Regions from separate parts of the Homo sapiens genome. Here region 2 is linked to region 1. Evidence: promoter capture Hi-C in 16 types of primary human blood cells and fetal thymus (Javierre and others, 2016). All regions are on one chromosome and are shown on one strand. The core of a region is centred on a gene start or on the middle of the fragment in contact, and the rest is flanking DNA. Distances in the headings are between cores, read along the strand shown. Region 1 holds the start of KRTAP23-1 (keratin associated protein 23-1). Region 2 holds the start of KRTAP13-3 (keratin associated protein 13-3).

Evidence for each region. Contacts are between HindIII fragments. The CHiCAGO score rates a contact against its expected background, and 5 or more counts as called.
Region 2: a contact is called between the fragment with the promoter of KRTAP13-3 here and the fragment with the promoter of KRTAP23-1 in region 1, in 6 of 17 cell types (neutrophils, total B cells, M2 macrophages and 3 more). The highest score is 9.2, in neutrophils.

Annotation. Positions count from the first base shown.
Region 1 is chr21:30,346,366-30,351,284 of GRCh38, forward strand. It overlaps KRTAP23-1 (keratin associated protein 23-1), which reads right to left and starts at 2,241. Exons shown (of 1, transcript NM_181624.1): 1 at 2,034-2,241. The coding sequence starts at 2,241. The coding sequence ends at 2,044. The HindIII fragment of the contact is 4,066 bases long and covers 1-2,957 here.
Region 2 is chr21:30,424,514-30,429,630 of GRCh38, forward strand. It overlaps KRTAP13-3 (keratin associated protein 13-3), which reads right to left and starts at 1,413. Exons shown (of 1, transcript NM_181622.2): 1 at 867-1,413. The coding sequence starts at 1,399. The coding sequence ends at 881. All of the region lies in intron 3 of LOC105372772 (a long non-coding RNA gene), which reads right to left. The HindIII fragment of the contact is 9,043 bases long and covers 1-5,117 here.

The sequences.
Region 1 (4,919 bases), core at 991-3,490:
TCCAGCCTGGGCAACAGAGGGAGACCCTGTCTCAAGAAAAAAAAAAAAAATTCAGGCCATATGCAAAACGGATGCAGCATTCCACATATAACAAAGTCCAGAGGTAGAGAGAATCGTTTTAAGAAATCCCAGAGACACTTTGGGAGGCCGAGGTGGGCAGATTGCGAGGTCAGGAGATCGAGACCATCCTGGCTAACACGGTGAAACCCCGTCTCTACTAAAAATACAAAAAATGAGCCAGGCATGGTGGCAGGCGCCTGTAGTCCCAGCTACTCGTGAGGCTGAGGCAGGAGAATGGCGTGAACCCAGAAGGCGGGGCTTGCAGTGAGCCGAGATTGCGCCACTGCACTCTAGTCTGGGTGACAGAGCAAGACTCCATCTCAGAAAAAAAAAAAAAAAAAGAAAGAAACCCCAGAGAAGGAACTTTACCAGAAGCATTGTTCCACATGGCTCCTTGTTTCTCATTGGCTTACCTCAGATCACATGCTCATTCCTGAGCCAATCACTTTCAGTAGGCATTGGGGCGCTCTAGAGTAGCCAAATTCAATCCTTAAGCCTAAGGCATAATCACGTTCATTTGCAGGACTATGTGTGGACGAGGAGGGATGCACAAACAAAATCCAATTTCCATAGAAAGAAGAGCGAGAAGGAAAACAGCTGTGAGAGCAGTGAACGATGAGCTACCCACCTCCATTTAGATATTTGAAAATGTATATGACTGTGTTCCACTTAATGTAAGAATATAATGGACTGTCTAGTTTTGCATCCAGATACAAGCCCAGGATATCAAGAGGTAAAGTCTTATCTCTCAGTCCGTGTCACCTATGCATGATACTGCCAGGTTTCAGACAGTTTTCAGGTGACTTCTATTATAACACCGGATGGCTTTATAGTGACCTAATGAAAGGAGGAGGGAGTGAACCATCAAATTAAAAAAAAAAAAACTCTTAGATATTATATTCTTCTTATTATAGTGGAATGCATACATCTTTAATTTCATGTATACCTAAACTATTTGTTTCATTACACTTGCTACTGAACTCAGTTAAAATCCTGACCTCAGAATTTCATTGTGGCTTATATATGTCTGGGAAGGAAGATTACAGGAAGGATTTTGATAATGTTCTCATAAAAACAGCCAGGCTAGTACTTGCTAAAACATCACTGCTGTCTCTGGATATTTTCTTCCTAGACTAGACCCATGAGTAGCTTAACCAAAGTGAAGTGTCCTGATTAGGCCTAAATGGCCATGAATAGAAAAACAGAGATAATCTCCTGTCCTATCTCTGAGTCTACTTGGCAGAAATTCCCAGGAACTAGATCTCTGTTGTTAGAAAACTCTGCCTATCAAGGAACCTACTCCTTTCCCTCAAAGTGAATATTTTATTTTTAGACAAAAAGTGGGGGTTTCAAATTCCCGACAGACATCTTATAAAGAAAATTAACACAAGATTTGTGATCTGATATCAGATTAAATGAGTTTATTTGAAGAAAAAGAAATCAACTCTTGCTCCATTTTTAACTAGAGAAGGAAGGGAAAATACAAGAAAACAGAAGAAAAAGAGATGAGTATTCTATGAGAAATGTTATTTTAATATTAATAAGTTTAAAACAATTATCTTTTCTGGATAGTAGAATATAGGTTCTAGCCAGATGATAGCTGAGATGGACTTTGAGAGAAATAATTGTAATGTGGAGGTTTGGAGCCCTTAGCAAGTTGATCGGTAGAAGCCAGATCCACAAGTTGGTCTGTAACAGGAAGACTGGAATGTCCTAAAGAGAACATATGTTGGGTGGCAGAATCCAGATCCATAGCCCAGGGAAGGGAAGCCACAGCCTCCATAACCCAGGGATCTGACGCCACTGGACCCACGGCCCACTGAGTAGCAGCTCCTAGATCCATAGCCCAGGGAGCGGCAGCTGCTGGATCCAAAGCCTAGAGACTCAGAGTAAGTCGACTGGCAGGGACTGCAGAGCACGGAGCTTCTGGGGCGGTAGCAGGAGGTCTGGCAGGGGCTGGACTCCACACAGGACATCTGGCAGCTAGGGGTTTCCCAGCAAGTCTCCTGAAAGCCCTTGCAGAGAGAGGAACCCAGCTGGCAGGTGCTGGGAGATCAAAGGTTCAGTGCTGTAGACCAGGTTGCTGGGGTACGAGGAGCCACCACGGGAGTAGCCTGAGTAGCACAGGTAGCCCTCACAGGAATGGGAGGAGAAGTTTCCACAGCAGCAGTTGTAGGACATGTTGACAGGAGATGTGAGTTCAGCTGAGCTGCATTGAGAAGATGCCCTGATGTCCCTGCCTGTGCCCAATGATCCAGTGATGTTTACACCCTCACACTGCTGGGCGTGATGCAGTATCCGGGAACCCCCCCATTCTTGTGAATGTGTTTTCATCAAATGACTAAGTAACCTAGGTTATAATTATAACTCAACACATTCATTTGTCTTTAACAGCAGTGTAATCATTCCAGTTTATAGAAGCCCATTGGCTTCTCTCTCTCTCTCTCTCTGTCTCTTTCTCTCTCTCTCTCTCTCTCTCTCTCTCTGCAGAAATAAGGTTTGGTTTGCTTTCAGAAACATTGGTGATGATACATACAGTGCCTCCCCACCCCTTTTACTGAGCTTGACTGTGGGTATTCTGAGCTTCAGCCTACAAATTCTTACCAGCAATGTACTCCCAACAGTAATCAGCAGCCACCCACCCCCCATTATTTACATATGTTTTATTAAGCATTAACTACATGCGCAACATTTAAAAGTGTGGTATGATTTAATCTTTGCAAATATCTTATGAGATACAAGTTGTCATAAACAATTTAGAAGTAAGGCCATGGAGGTTTGGAAAAGTTATGTAACATTCAGGTAATAAATCAAACAAATCATGGACCCCATGTCATCCCAGGTGTGTCTGTCTTTAAGGCTAGCACAAACCACAGAGCTATATAGACAATTTGTGAAGCTTGTAATTTCTGCTCCCAGAATCACATGGACAATTGAGTATGCAGGTGAAAAAAAAATTCCAAGGTGTTAATATTTGCATTTCATCTGATATATCTACTTGAGTATTCTTACCCCTTTTATGAATTCCCCAAATATAGCCAACTGAGGGGACAGCTTCTTAATTGATTTTGGTTATTTTTTTAGTATTCAGAGTTACTATGGAGATGCTTTGTTACAAATTATCTTCTATTTGCCCTCTCACTCAGTTTATCCTAGTTAAGCAACTCATGTTTTATCCACCATGGAGTTATTAGATTCTTTTTCAGTGTGAGGCAGAAAATTCTTTGGCAAACACAGACTTTCACTGGGACTAGTTGCGAAAAACTGATATGCCTTTAGTGAGTTGACTACCAATAAAATACATTTGCAGAAGCTTGAATTTTAATAGGGTGCCGACCTTTTGCCAACTCAGTTGGGAGTGAGAAATACGACACCTTCCAGAGTGATTCATTTCACTCCTTGCTGAGCTTCTCTTGTTCATCCTTCTAGGAAGACAAAGCAGCATAAAATTTACCATTATATTAAGTGGTTAAAATTATCTTTACCACTATAAAACATCAGTGGTATAAAGAAAAATCTTGGAATTAGAAATGTCTTTTTCCCCACTTGTTATCATATCCAACTTCTGCCTTCAAGCATCTTTTAGAAATTGGAAAGCAAAAAGCTATTTATGTAATTTGATCTTTTCAAACTGTTTCATAGATGATTGTTTTTTGTAATCTCCTGTAATATTTGCTTATCTGGCAACAATGGAATATTTTGTCCATTGTTTTGCTAACAAATTTCTACCAAATGCATTGCTCACATTGCACCAAATCCCTTTGTGAAAGATGTACCAAAATGGAGTCATTTATGTCAAACTCTAACAAAATGGGGTCAAGAGAGGCCACAAAAAAAATCCTCGTGCACACATGCCTGTAACAAGGGTTATCACAAGACCTTCTTCAAATTGCACTATTCCAGATAAATAGGTTCCAGGACAGTTACCTAGCAACAGCTGTCTTTACCAATAAACAAATGTCAACTCCTACAATGAGCTTTTGACCCGTGAACTTGTCTCAAAGCAGCTTACCTGGACCTCTCTTTGTATTTAAAAACTTCTCCTGTGCCCTAACCCCTTGGATGTGCCTATGATCCATCATCCACCATAGCATGCACATTCCTAGATTGCACTTCGCTGCTCTTTCCAATTAAAACTCATTTGTTCTGAAGAGCATATGTGAGTTTCTTTTTAGGTTGACACTTCTCATCCCTCAATGCCAAAATCAAACTCCTCCTATCAGATAGGTGTTCATCTCAACTAGACTTAGCTCTTCAGGAACAAAGATCTCAGTATTTTGTAATCTAGTTCACACACACACACACTGTGGAGGATTTGCAAGGGATGTACTTTGAAATGGCTCATGCAGGATGAATAATATTTCAGCTTGCAGGGAAATTACATATGTGAGAAGAACGAAGAACGCAATGCACAGAAGTTTTGTGGGGTGAGTGATGATGCTTAGTCTTCTTTGACCTAATTCCTGGCACATCATGGGTGCTCATAGATTATTTATATCAAATAATTAACTTTTATTTTACTTTCACTCAAGATAAATGTATGCATGTGAAAATAATGTTTCTGCTTTTAAAGTTACCTCTAATTAAAAGTGAAATGAATATTAAATCTATCTTTTATAATGAATATATCCCCAAGTTAATCATAACCAGTAAACCAAGGCCTGTTAAGATAGAGCACCTCTTAGAAGATGAACGGAGGATGGAAATTATGGTTTTAGTGCGTAGGGGAATATTCTGAACAATCTTTATAGTCCTTGTATGTGAATGTGCACTTGTTCTCTTCTCATTACACAAGGCAACAGGATCAAATAAACCATAATTGGTAAAGGTGCTCAGTTAGGTTAGCCAGAAGTCTGGGT
Region 2 (5,117 bases), core at 163-2,662, 77 kb after region 1:
CATGAACAGGCCTAATCATATAAGTATGAATTTTGTTCATGTACTCTTCAAACTTTTCTGTTACATTCTGTCCTTAGAGATGCATGGCATATTCAAGGAATGAACAAGGATAGTCAATGCTCTTAATACTATCAGTAACTTACTTTTTATAACGCTTTGATGTGAGAGAACAGAACAGTATAAATACAGCCTATCCAATTTTATTTCAAGATACAACCCAAACAATCATTTTTGATGATTCTGATGAAAGGTTATCATCAAAAATGATAGCAAAGGCTATCTTAACTATCCTGACGAGGATACTTAAGAGAAAGGCTATCCTTGGAAACTGTGAGAATCCCAGAAACTCCTGCTTAAAGAGGAGGAAAATATCTAAAGCCCAACCAAAATTAGTGTGGAGATCCCACAATCTGGGCATTGCAAAGCCCATTACCAGAAGCAATGACAATGCACATCCTAGACAATGCTTTACTAATAAATAGCAATATTAACAGCACATTTGGACAGAAGAATAAAGAGTTTATTAAAATAAAATCTTTTTCACTTCCTATCTCTTTTGGAAAGAAATACAAAAACTATAAATTATATCTATAATGCAGTTTGGATCACTCATTGATCCAATGGCTTCAGATATCTGAATTATAAAATCCATGCCTTCCCTTCCCAGAGTTATAGATCCAGATTGATCCAGTTATAGATTATTCATTGATCCAAACTGCAGTTTGACAGAACTAACATACAACCCAGTTTTTGAGGGCTGGAAAGTAAGGAAGACCTGGTGATCAATAATATTAGAATACTTCTCAAAGGAAGAAATTAACAGATGACCTTACTAAAGAATATGCATTTCTCAAATGAGTTTTACCAGTCACCACATTAGTCAGTAGAAACCAGATCTACAGAATGGCTGATAACAAGATGAATGGAACCACCTTCTAGGTGGAAAATAGATTGGATGGCAGAATCTGGATCTATAACTCTGGGAAGGGGAGGTATGGATTCTATAATTCAGATATCTGAAGCCATTGGATCCACAGCCCAGTGAGGAGCAGCTCCTGGATCCACAGCTCAGGGAGCAGCAGCTATTGGATCCAAAACCCCGAGACCCAACATGCATAGTCAGGCAAGAATTGCAGAGCATGTGAGTCCTGGGGTAGTAGCAGGAGGTGTGGCAGGGGCTGGACTCAACACACAATGTCTGACAGCTGTTGGGCCTCCAGCAGGTCTCCTGACAGCCCCTATAGAGAGAGGAACCCAGCTGGCAGGTGCTGGGAGAGCAGAGGTCAGTGCTGTAGACCAGGTTGCTGGGGTAGGAAGAGCCACAGGAGGAGCCTGGGTAGTGCAAGTAACCCCCGTGGGAGCAGGAGGAGAAGTTTCTAGAGCAACAGTTGTAGGACATGTTGACGGGAAGATGTGAGTTCAGCTGAGTGTACCTGGGAAGATTCTGAGTTTTAACGTGGCATCCTGGACAGTGTCATTTATATCCTCTCAGCAATAGGTGTGGTGCACAGCAGAGTCATCCCTCACATTTTTGTGCTCCCTCATTTACATATGTGTAGCTCAGCAATCTTGCCTGTAATTGCATTTGAATACTTTTCCACATGTTGTATTTATGCGTGCTATAATTTTGGTGTTATAGCACAAAGCCAATGAACTGCACTTATGCCAGAAATGCTATGACTGTTTCGTATTAATATTTATTTTATTATGTCTAGGAAAGCACCTCCTTTTCCTCCTAGCATAATTTTCATGTGTCTTGTTATTGGCTGTTATGGGCAATAATTTTCCCTAAACAGTGAGAAATGAGATAAAGTTACATGTCTTTTTTGTCAATGGATTAGAGACACAACTTTGGCCTTAATGAGAAACCTGCTGAAAACTAAACCTACATGTCACCATCCTTTCTCATTCCACAAAAGTTTCCTTCATCTATTATGTACTGTTACTCACTGTGTCTCACATCCAGTGTAGAGGGAAAAGTATGAGCCAAGACAAATTGAATAACATTGATGCCTATGACCAGAAGGAAACCTGGACAATTATTTGGAGACATGGTGACAGCAAGGGATGGAACTGAGACAATCACAAATGAAAAACAATTCTGGGGCCTTATGAAGAGAATTAAAGTGTTAAATAAACACACACCATTGAAATGACAGAAAAAAATAAATGAATTTTAGATTCAATGCATCTAATATGAGGCCCATGGTCCTAAGAGATTCTCATTCATATGTGTGGCAGCCTGGAGAATTCTCATCTCGGATCTTAAATTACAGGAGGCTTAAATAACCAGTGGTCCTACCTGCTGTGTTCTAAAAGTTAACACTGCATTTTTGGGGAAGGCTTGCTTTCTCTGGGCTGCTCCCAAGCAAAGACTGAGCACAGTGGGATATAGGAATTCCTGGAAGACAATTGACGGCCAGCTTTGACTCAGGGTTTCCTCAACGGCCTTAAAGAACTACTGTCTCCTGCATAGGTCTCAAGCACTTCTTTCTCTTTCTCCTTCACTTGGGCCAGACCTATGTCCAAATCTTACAACTCTCCCAGCCTCTCTCAGGGGAGACTCTGGAAAGAGAAAAAATGCAGAAAATCTGTAAATATTTAATCTTGTTTATACTTTTTAAAAAGTGATACTGTTTGGATTTGTGTCCCTGCCCAAATCTCAGGCCAAATTGTAATCCCCAGTGTTGGGGAAGGCCTGGTGGGAGATGATTGGATCATGGGGGTGGATTTCCCCCTTGCTGTTCTCGTGCTAGTGAGTTAGCTCTCATGAGATCTGGTTGTTTAAAAATGTGTAGCACTTCCCCCTTCACTCTTTCTACTGCTTCCCTTGTAGGACTGCCTGCTTCTCCTTCATTTTCTGCCATGATTGTAAGTTCCCTGAAGCCTCCCCAGCCGTGCTTCGTGTACAGCCTGCAGAACTGTGAGTCAATTAAACCTCTTCTCTTTATAAATTACCCAGTCACAGGTAGTAGTTTATAGCAGTGTGAGAATAGACTAATACAAAAAGTAAACCAATTTTTTGAAGGATAGCAAAAAATTTAAACTGAACATTTTATCTTGAGTATGCCAATCAGGGTAAACAAAAAAAAAATTATTTCAGTTGTTCAATGATTTAGAGAAACAATAAACAAACTTTTGAGTTTAGTTTTGGAGCTTATGTTCAGACTGTCTCCAGGTAATATCTGCTAAAACTCATTTTTTCAGCCATCTCCACCTTAGTTAGACTAGATCTACACCATTCTCCTATTATTTCACGTGTGAGTTGATGTCTTTTATCAAGATTGGTAAATTCCCAACTGTACTCTCTTCAAATATTGCTTCTGCCCCATCCTCTCATCTTTCTTTTGCTTAGATTCCAATTATAAGCAAGGTACACTTTTTAACTACATTACATATGGCTTATACTCTTTTTTCTATTTTCAATCTTTATATAGAAGTATTGGCTTTTGCTTATTGAGGTTGTAACCTGGATGGTTAGTGAAAGCAAGATTTTCCAGCATGTTAGTGACAAGTTGCCTGGTTATTTTGAAAAGAGAAGCAGGTAGGTGCCAAACGTTGTAATTTTCAACTATGGATGAGATTCTGTTGAAAACATATCTCAAATATCCAAAGCCATTATTCATAGCCCAGTGAAGAGAATCATCTGTCAAAAGATCAGAAGCCTTTTGATGTATATCCCTGAGCCATATATTTTATGTGAAAGATCTCAATTTTTAATTGTTGATAAATAATTCAGTCAAAAAAAGAAACAACAATGATGAGGCTCCATATTAAACAGAACAAATAATATGATCTCCAAGATGAAGTGAGTCCAAAGTTGTGGCATTTACAAGTTCTTCTTAAACTTCTATCAAATTAATGTGGACAAAGTTTTAGAGATTTAGAGGCAGAGAGAAGGGAAGAACACCTCTTTTCACAATAACTGGTTCAGAGAAGGATTTTTGAATAAGGAGCCTGGATTAACTGAAGACAAATTCACTAAATCCCTTAGTTTTGCCTGAATAAATTCATGCTCTCCATTTAACTCATAAGTTTTGTATTCAAGATTATTTTAAAGAGTTACATTTGAAACAAAAGAAAATGGGGAAGGAATAGTTTCCAAACCTACTTACTAAGGTACAAGGTTAGGGGAAATCAACTGCCATTGAAAAATAGAAAGTAACTCACTGAATAGATATTTGAATTGGCCATATTTGCTTCTTTCTTCATTCTTCCTTCTGGAAGGCCTATATTAAGTTACTTTTCAATATTGCCATACATTTTAATTGAGAAAATTTAATCGAGAAAATGTCTAACATTATTGTTGTAAGTTTATTATATTTTATTATAAAATAAAATGTCATCAACCATGACAGTACACTTTCTTTGGTCCTGAATATAATTTAACTACTTGTATTTCAACATAGAATATTTTGTGAATGAACTTACAAAGTGGCTATCCTCAAAGAATACGACAAAGCTGTCCAATTTTTATTTTTCAACATGGAATCTATAATTCAGCAGAGGCAAACAAACACATGAACAAAACATAAAATATAACAAGTAAAAAAAAGAAAAAAGATAAAATCAAACTTAAGCACAGAAAAAAGAAAGAAAAATAGAGGGAAAGAAAGTCAGAGGAAGAGAGAGAGAAAATAAGAGAGAAACATTCATATACCATGCAGAGGAAAAGAGGACTGGGGAACAAAGAAACTTCACATTTTCACAGGAAAATGTAGGATGGTACCTGGTTCTACAAGTGGCAAAAAGACACTGAAAGCCAGTAATATGGAAAGCTAGAGCCATTCTAAGAAGGTAGAAGTCCTGTATAATTACAAAAGTAGATGATAAATATATCAAAGTTCATAAGATTTGCTAATTTTGAAAATTTTTGCTCATAAAGACATTGAGACAAGACACATGACAGCTGGAATGCAATAGGAAAAAAAATTCTGAAATTCCTGAGCTTTCTCTTTGTTTCTCTTTCACTTGTTTCCTCCCTTCAGCAGACAAGCATTCGGGCTCTTTGGCTGAAGAGACATGACCTCAAATTGATCTTCTCTGTGACTGTGTTTCAATCGAGCTTCTTTTTGTTATCTCGTCTTTAAATAAATGGCAAGGTTTCTTTCAATTTC